4 separate regions of the Homo sapiens genome follow, and regions 2, 3 and 4 are each linked to region 1. Evidence: promoter capture Hi-C in human tissues and cell types (Jung and others, 2019). All regions are on one chromosome and are shown on one strand. Each heading gives the region's core, a stretch centred on a gene start or on the middle of the fragment in contact. The rest is flanking DNA. Distances are from core to core; before and after follow the strand shown.

The links. Contacts are between HindIII fragments. The study calls those that stand out against the background at their distance.
Region 2: a contact is called between a fragment that was not itself captured here and the fragment with the promoter of EGFR in region 1, in 3 of the 25 tissues and cell types used here (adrenal gland, dorsolateral prefrontal cortex and spleen).
Region 3: a fragment that was not itself captured here is called in contact with the fragment with the promoter of EGFR in region 1 in 5 of the 25 tissues and cell types used here (adrenal gland, bladder, mesendoderm cells and 2 more).
Region 4: a contact is called between a fragment that was not itself captured here and the fragment with the promoter of EGFR in region 1, in 2 of the 25 tissues and cell types used here (bladder and mesenchymal stem cells).

Annotation. Positions count from the first base shown.
Region 1 is chr7:55,017,455-55,020,910 of GRCh38, reverse strand. EGFR (epidermal growth factor receptor) reads right to left here and starts at 1,894. Exons shown (of 28, transcript NM_005228.5): 1 at 1,546-1,894. The coding sequence starts at 1,633. LOC105375284 (a long non-coding RNA gene) reads left to right here and starts at 1,989. Exons shown (of 4, transcript XR_007060329.1): 1 at 1,989-3,456. RefSeq lists an enhancer at 220-894. The HindIII fragment of the contact is 5,592 bases long and covers 1-3,430 here.
Region 2 is chr7:54,900,694-54,904,149 of GRCh38, reverse strand. No RefSeq gene overlaps it. Among named protein-coding and RNA genes, the nearest start is that of EGFR, 120 kb to the left of the region's middle. The HindIII fragment of the contact is 4,185 bases long and covers 1-3,456 here.
Region 3 is chr7:54,936,599-54,940,054 of GRCh38, reverse strand. It overlaps the pseudogene LOC643168. Among named protein-coding and RNA genes, the nearest start is that of EGFR, 81 kb to the left of the region's middle. The HindIII fragment of the contact is 7,135 bases long and covers 1-3,456 here.
Region 4 is chr7:55,083,523-55,086,978 of GRCh38, reverse strand. The region is part of intron 1 of EGFR (epidermal growth factor receptor); the gene reads right to left. Among named protein-coding and RNA genes, the nearest start is that of EGFR, 66 kb to the right of the region's middle. The HindIII fragment of the contact is 3,887 bases long and covers 1-3,456 here.

The DNA.
Region 1 (3,456 bases), core at 645-3,144:
TTTTTGTTTTGATTTTTTTTTTTTTAATCCCAGGTAATTCCAATGTGCAGCAAGGTCTGGGAACCACTGTTCTATGCCTTGCCCCTCCCCCAACGACCGCGCTGGGCACCAAACCCCAACTCCCCAAGCCAATGACATCAACAGCAAGTACGGGCCTGGCTCTTGGAACCCGCGCAGCTCAAGGTTGGAATTGTGCAATTAAACCTTCCAAGGCATGTTTCCCCTGTCAAGTGGGTTTATGGTCGGTAGTCACGAAGCCAGACTCGCTCATGTTCTGTCTGCACACTTGGCACACTTGAACCAGGGACAGCAATCCGGTGTGTGTGTGTGTGTGTGTGTGTGTGTGTGTGTAAGACAGGTTTAATATTTTGGTTGGCTCAAATTCTTCAAACAGCAAAAAGAGACATCCAAGAAAGAAAGTCTCCGGGTTTTGAGGAGAAGTTTGCTGTGAGCCCCATTTTGAAACACCATGGTGTTGGCCAGGATGAGCTCTGCTTCCGGGGCTTCCGCTCAAGAGTCCCGCGATCCCCCCCTGCAGTGGCCGGACAGCCGCGTCCCGCTCCACCGCGAAGCCCAGGCGCGACCGAAGGGCTGCAGGTGGAGCAGACCCGGACGTCTCCGCGAGGCGGCCATCGAAGGAGAGCCTGGGGCTTTCGGCGCGGGCGCCCAGGAGGGAGCTGGGGTCCCCGGGAGGTGGGGGGCACTCTTGGATAGGCAAGACGAGGGCGCACCGGGCGAGGCGAGCGGCCGGGGTCTGCGCCCAAGGGGCGGGTCGGACCCCACCTGCCTTTTGCCAACGAGGAAACTAACCGCCGCCAGCACCACCCCTCCCCGGGAGCCGCAGGTGGTGGTAGACGAGTTCTCCCAGCTCCCAGGTCGAGGCTGCGACTCCACACTGGGGAACGAGGATCGCGGGGACCTGGAGAGGGGCCGGGGCCAGGCTGGCGGGCGCCGGCTTCAGTTTGAGACCTGCGCGGAGGGCGGAGGCGGGGAGGTCCTCTCAGAAAGCCGCCTGTCCCGCGGGGTCCGAGGGGAGGCTGTATTTTTGGGTTCCTTCCTCAGCTTCCCTAAACAGTGCAGTCTCGGCGGGTGGGCAGCGCCCGCCCCTCGGGTGCGCGCCAGGACCCCGTCGCGCCCTGGGAAGACAGCGCGGGGCGCACGTGCGGGACCCCGGCCCCAGGCGCCCACCAGCACCCGGCTTTCGCCCACTGACGCCGATCCTGCGCAGCTGGGCGGGGAAAGTGAGGGAAGAAAGTTGGGAGCGGTTCGGGGCGCCGGAGGTCCCGGCGGCCGTTCCCCGCCTGGCCTGCAGCCCGGTGTCCCACGCGTCTCCTCCTCCGCCCGCCCCAGACTCTCCCGGCCGAAGAACGAAACGTCCCGTTCCTCCCGCGGTCCCGGTCGGCGGCGCAGCTGATCTCAAGGAAACAGGAAAGGACGGGCGGGGGCGCGGGCGCCGAGCCGGTGCGCCGGTGCGCGGTTGGGCGGGCTGCGGGGTCCGGGGCGCGATCCGGGGGCGGCGCGGGAGCCGGCGAGACACGCCCTTACCTTTCTTTTCCTCCAGAGCCCGACTCGCCGGGCAGAGCGCAGCCAGCAGCGCCAGGAGCGCTGCCCCGGCCGTCCCGGAGGGTCGCATCGCTGCTCCCCGAAGAGCTCGCTCCGGCTCTCCCGATCAATACTGGACGGAGTCAGGGGGCCGTGCGCGGTGGTTGTGGCGTTGGCGGCGAGGCGGGGACTCGGGCGGACGCCGACGAGGTGGCCTGTCGTCCGGTCTGGGCGGCGGCGGCCGCCGGGGCTAGCTCGGGACTCCGGCCGCCTCGGCCGCGTCGGGCGCTCACACCGTGCGGGGGGCGGAGGCTGCTGCGGCCGCGCTGCGCCGGGGGCTGCCCGGACGTCTAGCTCGCGCGGGCCGAGGCGCGGGGAGGCAGGGCGGGAGGAGGAGGGACCAGGCGGCGGAGGAGGGATCGGGAGGAGCAGAGGAGGAGGAGAATGCGAGGAGGAGGGAGGAGAACCAGCAGCGGGGACCCAAGGCCAGCGGCCGCCGGAGGCGGTGGACAGCGGTGGCCCCCGCGGGACCTAGTCTCCGGCGGGAGTGGGGCGGCGCATGGGAGGGGAGCGGGTGCCCTGAGGAGTTAATTTCCGAGAGGGGCGTTCCCAGCACTGCCCCTCTGGACCCGGTCCCCGCGGACTTGCAGGCCCAGCCTATGTCCAGGTCGAGCCAAATCTGTGCCAGGGTCCCCTTCCCCCTTTCCCTTCTTTTGTTTTACAAAGCAAACTTGTACCAGCTTTAGACAGACTGGCCGAGCCTTAGAGCCAGCGTCGGATAATGGCACCGACGGGGAAACTGCTCCTTTATTCGGGTCCCCACCTCCCCTGCAGCACTACGGGACCCTCTCGGGGATCAGAGGCTGGCCTGGCAGCTGAGGAGGTCGCCGTGCCCGCGCGGCAGGGGTGCCAGGCGTCCGAGGTGGTGCTCTAAAGTCCGAGGGTCCTTCAGATCTTGTCAAGCACCCTCGAAATCATCTGAAATGAGGGCACCCAACTCCGGGTGCAGAGACAGGCCTCCTTAATGTTTATTGCAACCAGCCATGGGTACTTTGAAGCCAATGTGTGAAGCACATTACTTCGCAAAAGTGAAGCTCTTGGAATAAAGGCTTGACACAAACAGCCGTGGAGGTGCTTTTAGAGAGGCTAAGTGTCCCACTGCCCCTGTAGCTCCCGCAGGAGAAATGCCAGGGAAACTCGCGGAAGCTTTGGCCAAAAGAAACTGAGCTTTTTTGGGCTGCAGGAACTTGAGCTATATTCCTTTGGCAAGTCCACCCCATCCCCACTGTTCCTTCTCCTGCAGTAAAAATGTCCTCTAGGTCCATGTTACAGCCAGACCCCTCCTCTCTTCACGAGATTCACTAGGACCTTCAGGCCTGGTTCAACAACCCTGATCTCTCGGCTCTGTCAAAAATCACAATCCTGAAGTAAGTGAAGCTACAGACCTGCCCTTTGCTGTCTCTGAAGGGGAGCAACCTTACATCTTTCCTCCTCATCCAGCAAAATGTTTGTGCCTGGGTCTCGCACCCTGCAGCCTGAACGGTGGGGTTTTTCACCAGGGCAAGCGCAGACAGACACAGGTCTGCTCACTGCCCGCACAACCTGGAACTTCCCTGTGAATTAGGAGAAGTAATCTGTTCCTTTGTTTTAACAAATCAGTACAGCCACTGTGCGTTGAAGTCATGCCCTGAATGCAGAGGCCATGAAGGCTCTGCAGGCATGTGTGTGCTTCCTGCACACCTGGGCTGAGAGCAGTCCGTAGAAACACAGAAAACAAAACTAGAGAAAGGCAAATGGGAAGCACAACAGTGGAACATAAAATGAAGACAGGAGTGAGTCTTACAATAAAAGACCTGAATACAATAAAGTCCTGTGCATTCACTTAACAAGGGCTGCAAATTTGGTTTTAAACTA
Region 2 (3,456 bases), core at 346-2,845, 120 kb after region 1:
ACAAAGCAGCTGAGTCAAGTTTTGGAATGAACCGATTTGCTAAGGAGGCTGATGAATGAATTTGCCCTTGATGTTTTGCAGTTTTCATATCTTCCCATTCAAAAGAACACCTTACCTAACTTCTTCATTATTATCACTTTCTACATTGAGGAGACCCATCCTAATTGGAGGGCTGAGAGATCATGAAAATTCAAACATTCCAAGAAAAATAACAATATTTGAATGATCCCTCTGAAAGAGATTTATCAGAACCTCTCCTGTTCTCTTCTTGCTAATGCCTCTGTTTGTCATGGTGAGAAATGTTATGATGATTTAGAAGTAGTCTGAGGAAAGTTTGTTAGCTTCAAAAGGGCAAAATAAAATTTCCCAAATTCGCAAAGCCAAAGAGGTCTTTTTCTTTAAAGTGTGACTGTGGGGCCTTTGGTACATCAGTTTTAGAGAAATAAAGTGTTTTTTTTGTGTTCCTATATAAGTAACACATGCATTTTTAAAACTCTATAGAAAATGTGTTATTTTCAATAAATGATATGTATAATTTTTTAGTTATCTCGATATGACACTTACCTTCTATACTTTGAACACCCTCTCATGAGATACTGTACATCTTCTTTGCATATACTTACATTTTATATTGTCTGCCTTCTCTGCTCGTCTATAATTTCTGTGAAATCAGAAAATGGCTCTCATATCCCCACTTTCCAGTCACTAGTGAACTCCCCAAATATAATTGAATATATGAATGAATATTAAATAAGACTTACTAAATTCATCATGACAATATTATATATGTCTTACAAATGAAAAAACCAAAATTATGTTTTCTATTCGGGACTAAGCTTGAATCATTAGAGTGTGACATTTCTGAAAGTATGTTCTACAGAAAATTATTTCTGGAGGATTTTAATAATCAGCAAAACAACCTTCCTCCCTTGTTTAATAATTAAAGTAATTTGGAGAATTGAAAGTTGCTACATTAAGCAAAATTAGGTTACTTTACCACTAGACATAGAAATACATTAATATGTATATAGAGCGTGCAAAGCTCTGGGTGGGGATTTAGACTTCTCTGACTGGCCGGAGGTCTTCTTAACAAGCTTCCTGCAGGAATAAAATTGTCCTTTGGGACCAGCTGTGTTAGAACATGGCATTTATGCTTGTTTCATTGAATACTCCATTTTGATCAGTCTGCCTTTTGACCTGATAAAATTTATGATTGCATATGCAATGTAGATGTAGCAGATAGGCAAAAACTAATTGAGAATCTCTTATGAACCCTTGTCTAGCACTTGCAACAATCCTATGGGGAAAGCCCTATTATCCCCACTTTGTAGATGAGGAAGCTGAGACCCAAAGCGGTGAAGTGAGTTTCGGGGCCAGCACAGTAGCGCTTGTGAGGAGATGGTGTCTCATTCCGGTTGGCCTGATTCCAGTGTCCAAGCTTGTTCTGCCGACTTCATCAAGTTTCCAGCTTCCATGGTACCTGTCCTCATGCTGACCCAGGCCTTTCCATGGCACTGGCTGCATCCCAGAGTGAGGTTCCTGGGTGGTCCTGCCTCCACAGCTCCTTGTTAGAAAACCTGTGGATTTGCTGCTCCTCAGAGTTTTTCTTGTTCTTTTCTCAGGTCCAGTTGCTTGTGAGACTGGCTGTGTTTTCTGCTCTTCGATTCTTTTAAATATCCCTACTTCTTTATGATTATTCATCCTTAGACTAGTTTGTGTAGGTTTCTCCTTTTGCCGTCAAACTACTCTTGTCTAAGACAAAGCTTGAAAGAGGGAAGATTCTGGTGTTGAGCTTTGAATGAATGCCGGGCACTATGTTAGTAAACTTCCTGTGTGTGCAAAGGTGTGTTCACGTGTGTGGAGATGTGAGCCTCAAAACAACCCAGAGAGAATATGTGATGATAGCTCCGACCAGCAACTGAAGCTAAGTCCGAAAGAGATGGCCGTGGACGTGAATGGAGGCTCCTCACCATATTAGTTGCACCAGAACACAATCACCAACTAGTCATCAATATTAGATGATTGTGTGAGACAAGGCTGTCAGGCAAAGAGAAATTGGGGAAGAAAGTTGTGTAATGCTAAAGTCACCACCAGGGTTTGAGTTTGCACCAAAGATTATGCGGGTGGCTCCTTCCATGCTCTTCCCCAGCCGTCTCTTCCTGTCCTGCAGCACCTTTTGAATGGAATGTTCACCTTCCCCTTCCCAGTCAGGAGAGTCCTTTCACCACAAAGATTATCAGCCACTTGTATTTTGTGTGCATTGTATATATTTACCCCTGTTTATTTGCCTTTTGATTTTGTAAAGGGATTTTTAAGCATACATAAGATTTAAATTATATTAGACTATAATAGCTATGTGTGTATACATAAATATATGTATTTTGTGTATACATAAATATATGTATTTTGTGTATACATAAATATATGTATTTTATACACACATGCATATATATTCATATATACACATATACACATACATATATAGTCCCTTAGAGTTTCTCCTAACATGTTTATTCTTGTTTTTTTTTTCTTAGAAACTCAGTCCATTTAGGCTTAGTTTAAAGCTATATTTCCCTGACTTATTTTTAAAGATATTTTATCAGGTAGCTGCTTTAAATGGATTTTAGGACAAGTCTGAAAATCATGTATGTGTAAATAAATAAATTATCAAGTATAAAAATAAATAAGCACCATATTCTCCCAGATGCCATAATCATTTCACATTCTTGGCACCTAGGGGTAGAGCCCGGCATGCCTCAAGTTCAGTGGGTGCTGTTTGAGTCAAGGGTCAGTAAATGAATCGTAATATATTACAAACAAGGCTTCTAGAGGCTATCCTTCCTGCTCTTATAGGTTGTGGAAGAAACTTCTATTGAAGTAGTGCCATATACAGGCATGCAGTAAAAGTTCTCTTTTTTCTTCCTATCTGGCCAAAGAATCACATTTTTTCATACATGAAAGAGAGAGGCAGCTTCTTTTTCCATCAGTTGTGTAAAAGTGCCTAAATAGATAAAAATTGTGTTAACTTTCATTGGGATTTTTGTTTCTACCTAGAAGAGCTTTCCAGTAATGAAAGTTTCAGTCCTTTTCATATATTCAAAAGGTTAAATTGCCATATTTAGCCAATTAAAGGACAGGATGCCCAGCTAAATTTGAAAAATAGCTCTAACTGCTGAATATTTGTAATTGATTGAAGAAAGCTTCATACAGGACGTTAGGACATGCTGCCAAAGTCACTACAGGATGTGGGGTGAGGACACAGGAGCCCAGCAAGCCTAGCAAAAGATGGCCATCTCCAGTCGTGGCTCACACCTATCATCCCAGCACTTTGGGAGGCCGAGGCGGGAGGATCACCTGAGGTCGGGAGTTCAAGACCGGCCTGACCAACATGGAGAAACCCCGACTCTACTAAAAATACAAAATTAGCCGGGTGTAGTGATGCATGGCTGTAATCCC
Region 3 (3,456 bases), core at 668-3,167, 81 kb after region 1:
CTAATTGCCCTGCTCTTTCTTTCTTTTCTTGTTTCTTACTTTGACTTAATGGATTTAAACTCATTTCATCATACTAGTTGGGAGCTTATATATTCTACCCCTATTGTTAGGAGCTACTCTTACATGTTATGTTAAGCTACTCTTAAACATAACATACATACTTGGCATAAACTCTAAAGTTACTTTATATCTACTTCTACCTTCCTTGAAAACAATTATTACTAAGGTTTCATAATACTAATACTTGTTTAGATTTACCAGCCTGCTTTCTTTTTTAAGATCTTAAAAATTAAAAAAAAAATTTTTGTAGGTACATAGTAGGTGTATATATTTATGGGGTACTTGAGATACTTTGACAGGCATGTAGTAAGCAGTAATCACATCATGGAAAATGGGGTATCCATCCCTTCAAGCATTTATTCTTGGAATTGCAAACAATCCAATTATACTCTTTGAGTTATTTTTTTCTGAAAATCATCTATTTACTATAATACATATAAGACAATCTTAAAATTGTAGTCTGAATTAAGATAACATTTACCAAAGAATTTTTTTCTTTACTACACAAAATATAACCTAGTGAAATTTGCCTGTGCCACCTATTCTGAAAATTTTATCCATAATTTATTGTTCTGGTTATATCTTCACTAACAAAATGTTTACACCCAAAAGCAGCAGTCGTTTATAGTAATTCTGGTGCCAACATCAAAGGAAAAAAATTGGCTTAAAAATGGTGCAAAAGCCATTTTGGGTTTTAGGATAACACATCACAGGAAAGAACATGAATACAAATTTGTAACATAAACACTCCGAAGAGTTTGTCAGTACCCAAAGTATTTTTATTGGTTTTTTGGATATGTTTTTAAGGGCCACATAAAAATAGACACAAGGAACAAATTAAATTGAAGTCTTAGATTTAAATGTTTGGTTTAAAGAATTTTCTACAACAAATTTCATGTTTATGTATGAAAAGTTATATAAACTTAATGCAAATGTCATGAAGTATTTTCTACACTATACTAAATGTGTTCTCCAAAAGGGAAAAAATTAAAATATCTAAAATATATTAGATTAAGATTATAAGAACATCATAGATCTTTTGACCATGCATCTATTTACAGAATTAACAGTCTACAAAATGTTTATTTCATTATGGACCAGAAAGAAATGAGTTGGTGACAACTATCCTTTGCACAATATTATCAACTCACTTTAGTCACAAGCATGTCCTTGGTATGTGTGTAAAAGAAATAGGTTCATTTATCCTTCATCAAATCATCCACAGGTTTATTTGTAAGTAAAGATGAAGGTACAGAAATGTGAAATATGTCAAGTGTATTTTTTCTTTCTTTCAAACAACATCCCAAGCATGGCCTCAGTAGCCTGAAAGTATAAAATACTTAACTGGGCTTTTACTTATCTACACTGACTGCCAGAATGTAAATTAAGTTGCCCAAATTAGCACATCAAATAACAAAATCGCCAGAAAGCAGGCTGAAAAGCATTAAATGTTTCATATAGGTGAGTTTTTAAATCATTTAATTTCTATGGAAAAATTTTATTCACAACATAATGTGACAGAAATTGTCACAGGAATGATATACTGATTGCAATAAGGTTGCATGCAGCAGCAGCTTTGTATTTTATAGCTATTTTTGTTTATAAAAATTAAACCTCTCCAGTCATGCCTATCACATAGTCTTAGATTTGTAATGTAAGTGAATAAGGAATACCATCTAGTTCAAAGAGAAAATGTCATTTTGAATGTGAATTATCTGTATGAAATATGAAGTATACTACTGAACCCTGAAACATGCATGTCTAGATTTGCTTTTTGTCCAAATCCAGCCTGTTTGCAATTACTTCCTACTCATATAATACCAAGAGGTTCCGTTTGTAATTGTGGTTGTATCAGCTGAGGTTGCAATGGTGGCGGCAACTGAAGTAGTACCGTTGGTTCCACCAACTGTCCTGGGTTTGAAGGTGGTGGAGGAGCCACAGTGTTTGTCGTTTCTACAATTTCTCCATTGTAAAAGAAAAACTGACACTGTTGAATGAATGTTTCAACAACAGATTGATGAATCTTAGTAGTAGACAGAAACTCTTGATTTTCAAAATCAGCTCTCATCAAGGTTGGCCAAAAACAGATGGATTAAGTTGTCTGCTGTCATTAGGTTGATTTTATTTTGCTGACTAACCCTGTTCAGATGTGTTATCATGTATCTGAATACATCATAGTTTACAGGATGAAATTTCTTAGCAATTTCTTTCAAGGCATGAAGACATTCTGTTTTATCTGGGATTTTTGCTGTTTCCAATAGCTCTGGATGAAGAGAATATGGTATTAAAGGAACTGGCAGATCTGCAAAGAAAGCTTTAAGGGCTCCAGCTACAGCATTTACTGTTACTTCCATTGACACTAGATTGATATTATGATCTTGATCAAACTGCTTTTGAATATTGTCTTGGTCAGTTTCGTTCCTGCTAACACGGTAGAGTCCTTCAGTACATAACCCTGTATCTTCAATAAATTCCACACATTTCTCAACAAATACTGGTATGGGCTTCTCAGCTGTAACCAGATCCTGGAGGGGCATCCCAAAGTAATTACTTTCCCAATTTCTACATGTTGGTGGATTGAAGGTCTTAGTTTTCTTTTTCTGCTTTTTATCTCCTTTCACTTTGCGGGTTTTCTTCTCCATCTTCTTATCATCTAACTCCTGGTCAGAAGTGATTGCAGGATTACCAATACCTAACCTTTCCAAGTTTCAACAGGAGAAAGAAGTGGATCTTCTTCACTTCCACGATGTCTTCCTTTTCTTTTTGTTTTAGAAGTGGTGAAAGCCTCATCATCACTTGCATCTGAATGTGTTCTCCTATAGTATGACTTGGCTTTACTAAACATGATTTTAGACTTATATTTGTATTTTGAAGGCCTCCATTCCCCGTGATTTTTTTGAGGTTCTATCAGAAAATCCATTTTCTTCATCTCCTTGGGTGTTATTTACAAGTGAGTTTTGAATTTTAATGTGATTTTGACTATCATCTGGGACAATATAAATCTCATCAGAATAGCCCTTCTGTTTGAAAATTGTATCAATGGGTTCCGCATAGTTATCTGAAGGATTCATATCTTCAGGATGTGCCAAAGGCACCTGGGAAGTCCGCTTTCTTGGATTTTTACCAATACCAGCTTCAATTGTTTTTAAAATGTTTGGATCCATTTTTTTCACATTTGTCTTAGGTACAACTAGTTTAGGTTTAATAGGTGGAGGCACTTTATGGTTGCGTTCATGGTCACGACAGTTTGGGGTACTATGAATAGAATATTCATTTCCTTGCAAATCTAATCTGTATCTGGAATGGTCACTAGGTGTTGGAAGCAACTGTACATCATCCCCAGTTGGACTATAAGGAGGTAGTGCTTCTGTGTCATCATCTGAATCAGGGTAGTTG
Region 4 (3,456 bases), core at 616-3,115, 66 kb before region 1:
TTCTCATTTCCTGCCTGCAGAAAAGAGAAATATTAAGATAGTGTTGTGTGCAAAAAAATGCAAGCTTGCAATGAGAGATGCAGAGCGTGAGGGAGAGAGGCACGAGGGGGTGGAGAAAAAAGACAGAGAATTTGAGGTTGACTCACGGCTTTGAAGGGAAAACAAGAAGAGGAAGAAAGTCTGTTCTCCCATGGGTCGTCAAACCCCACACTTCACACATCTTTCCCATGGGGCTGCCAGCTGCCGCCACATCACAGCTGTGCTGCCACCCAAGTGTGCCGCCTCCACAGCGGGAGCGACCTAAGCGTGGCCACCTCTGCCTCTGGAGGGCCTGCCTGCTGGCCAGCGGTGGCCGCCCCAGACCCGGGTGACTGGGCAGCACAGTAGCCCGCCTGGGCAGGGCATGAAATTAACGAGGCAAAAGAAGCCACAGAGAGATGAAAGCATAGAAGAAAAAAAGTCACCCTGCAGCTCAAATTAAAACAGAAAACTCTGCTGCTATACTTGGTCTTATTCCAAGAAGCTGCCAGGAAAGAATTGACTCACAGAAAAGCCACAGCTTCATTTTTTCCCATACTCAAGTGATATGTCTTTCCAGGGCTTTTTTCTTCAAAGGGAAAGGGAGCAAAATAACCTCACTTTTCTGCATTACCATAGACTATCTTATATAATTTTTTTACAGCCTGTAATGGCTGGTTGAGATACCAGCTGACAGTGTAGTGGATGAAGGCTCCGGGGTGCAAGCCCCTGGCTGTCCTGGCCAGCTCTTTAACTCGAGCAAATTACTTACTCTCTCTGAGCTTCCCTTTCCTCGGCAGTAACATGGAGGTATTGAGCAGAGAAATTGTGAGGCACTGTAGACACGAGATAATTCACAAAAATTGCACGGCACGGGACCTGGCACATAGTCAGCACTTCACAAACAGTGGCTCTCATAAGGTAGTTAATAGTGGTTTCAAACTATGTGTCAAATCTAAGGGAGGAAGAGGGGCTTCTAGGGGGTGGGGATGGGAGGGAATGTTCCAGTACAAATCTTGGTATTGTCAAACTTGGGGCAGCATGCTCAGGAGACAAAACACGGAGGCACATCTGCACAAGCTCAAATTCTACTTCTGCCACTGCATCAGTTGGGCCACTGTGGCTCCTCATTTCCTTATTTTTAAAAGAGCTGATGTGAGAACGAGCTGATTTAATGTGTAAAATACCTAGTGCCAGCAGACAGAAGGTACCCGCTACACACCAGCTCTGTACTCTGCCTTGATCCTTCGCAATTTTCGTTAGCAGAATTCCACCACGCACTACTGACTTTATGGTATGGCTAAAACCAGAATTCTAAATGTTCAAGGATTCTTGTGCAGTTACTTCAGCAGGAGTTTTCAGAAAGTGGGAGAAATACTATTTATGAAGCACCACCCATGTGCTTTAGTCTTTCTACATTGTTAGGTTTTCATGATAATACTTTAGAGATAAGAACACTCCTCATCTCATGGACAACGGAACGGGCTCTACAAGAGGGCGTGCACAGTGGACCTGGGGTCTGACGCCCACCCTGCTCTCTGCACCTGGAGCCCACCAGCATCCTGCTCCCCATGCTGCCTCCCCTGGAAAAAGAGACACATGCAAATGATGAAGCATGCAGGAGCCACATGGAGGTTTTATAAACTTAAAAGGATTTACATGAATGCCTCAGAGAAGGGGCAACCCAATGTCAACTCTGATACCCCAGGCATGATACCACTGACAATGTGTCTGCTGGCATCAGTTGGAAAACAATGCAAATATCCTTCATGTGATTAAACACAACATGCCTGTGACATTGTTTTTTTTTCTAGCCAGGCTGACTGTTGTCCTGTAGGCTTCCAAAGGCTGCTGGTGCCCTGACCTTCAGCTCCTAAATTACCATCTGAAGGACAAGGACTGGGGAAGGGAAGGAGAATTTGCATTTGAGCGTACCATTCCGTAGGTCATTCCAGAGAAACTGTGCCTTCCTCCCGGTTGACTCTCCGCTCACTGAGTGTGACAATATGCCTGACTATGGAAGATCACGGATGGGGCTGTACTGCCCTGCTACCGAGAACCTGGACAGAAGACAGCAGGTGAGCCCTGGAGGCTGGAATGAATGGCTAAGAGCATCTCAGGACTCCACTTCTCTGAAGGCAAAATCCAATATGCCAAATTCCTCTTCCTAATAAAAGCCCTTTAAATATTTGAAGACAGCTATTATAACTCCTCTTAGTTTTCTCCCAGATAAATATCCACATTTGCCTTCATCCGTCACTTGACTTTTCTCAAGTGTCTTCCCCATCCTCTGACCATTCCAGTTTGTAAACATTCCTCCCAAGTGTAGCCTTGTAACTGAACTCTTCTAATCAACAGAAGCTTGTCCAGCTTTATTATATCTCTTAATGCAACTTGACCCAAATGCATGATAAATATCAGTCCCATGGTTAGGTTATATGGCAAAGTTGAAGTTGTGCAGATGTAATTAACATCCCAAATCAGCTGGTTTTGATTTAATACAAAATGAAGTTATCCTGAGTGGGCCTGACTTAACCAGGTAAAAGCCATGAAGAATGGACTGAGCCCTCCTGGAGGCACATGCTTTCCCACTGGGCCTGGAGAAGCAGGCGGCCATGCTAAGAACTGCTTATGGAGAGGGTGGCCTCTAGGAGCCAGGACCTCAGTCCTACAGCCTCAAGAAACTGAATTCTGCCAAGAACCCTTATGAGCCTGGAAGAGGACCTGGAGCTCCAGATGAAAACATACTTTGTGAGTCCCTGAGAACCCAGACCCTGACCCACAGAAACAGAGATAAGAAGTGTGTGTTGTTTTAAGCTATGACATTTGTGGTTTTGTGTGCCAACCTCATAACTTGGGCTTACATCTCATCATGGTAAGCCAATCTCTATCTTTCATAGGGGCATTTGTTAAACCACCTTTCTTCCACTCAGGATATTTGTTACTGATTTGGCCTTGACCCTGTTATTAATAAATTCCCTGATTTTGTTCCATTCATTTGGGTCTGTATTTTAGGATCCCAATCTTGCTAACCTATATGTTCTAATCCCTTCCTCTTGATTTCTTGTATTCCAAAAACCTGAGGCACTCATTTAAACTGGCCAATCATTCCCAGGATGTTACTTCTTGACTCATCAAAGTAATCAACAGAGACAATGGGTTTCATTTTACCAAAAACTTCCAGTATATTTAAACATTAATGCATGTCTGCATTATATTAGTTCACATATTTTTAAAACACAAATTCGACTAATAAGTAGCCATTTTTTTTCAGGAAGAAAAAGATTCGCTTTCTTCAGTAGATGCAGCAAAGATCTCCCCTTGGCCTGAAAATAATTTAAAACCATGATATTAATTGTACACACATGCGCACAGTGTGCCTCGCCATGTGCCTGTTTTGGTTATACTGCAGACAGGCTTTCATGCCCTTCTAAGAGT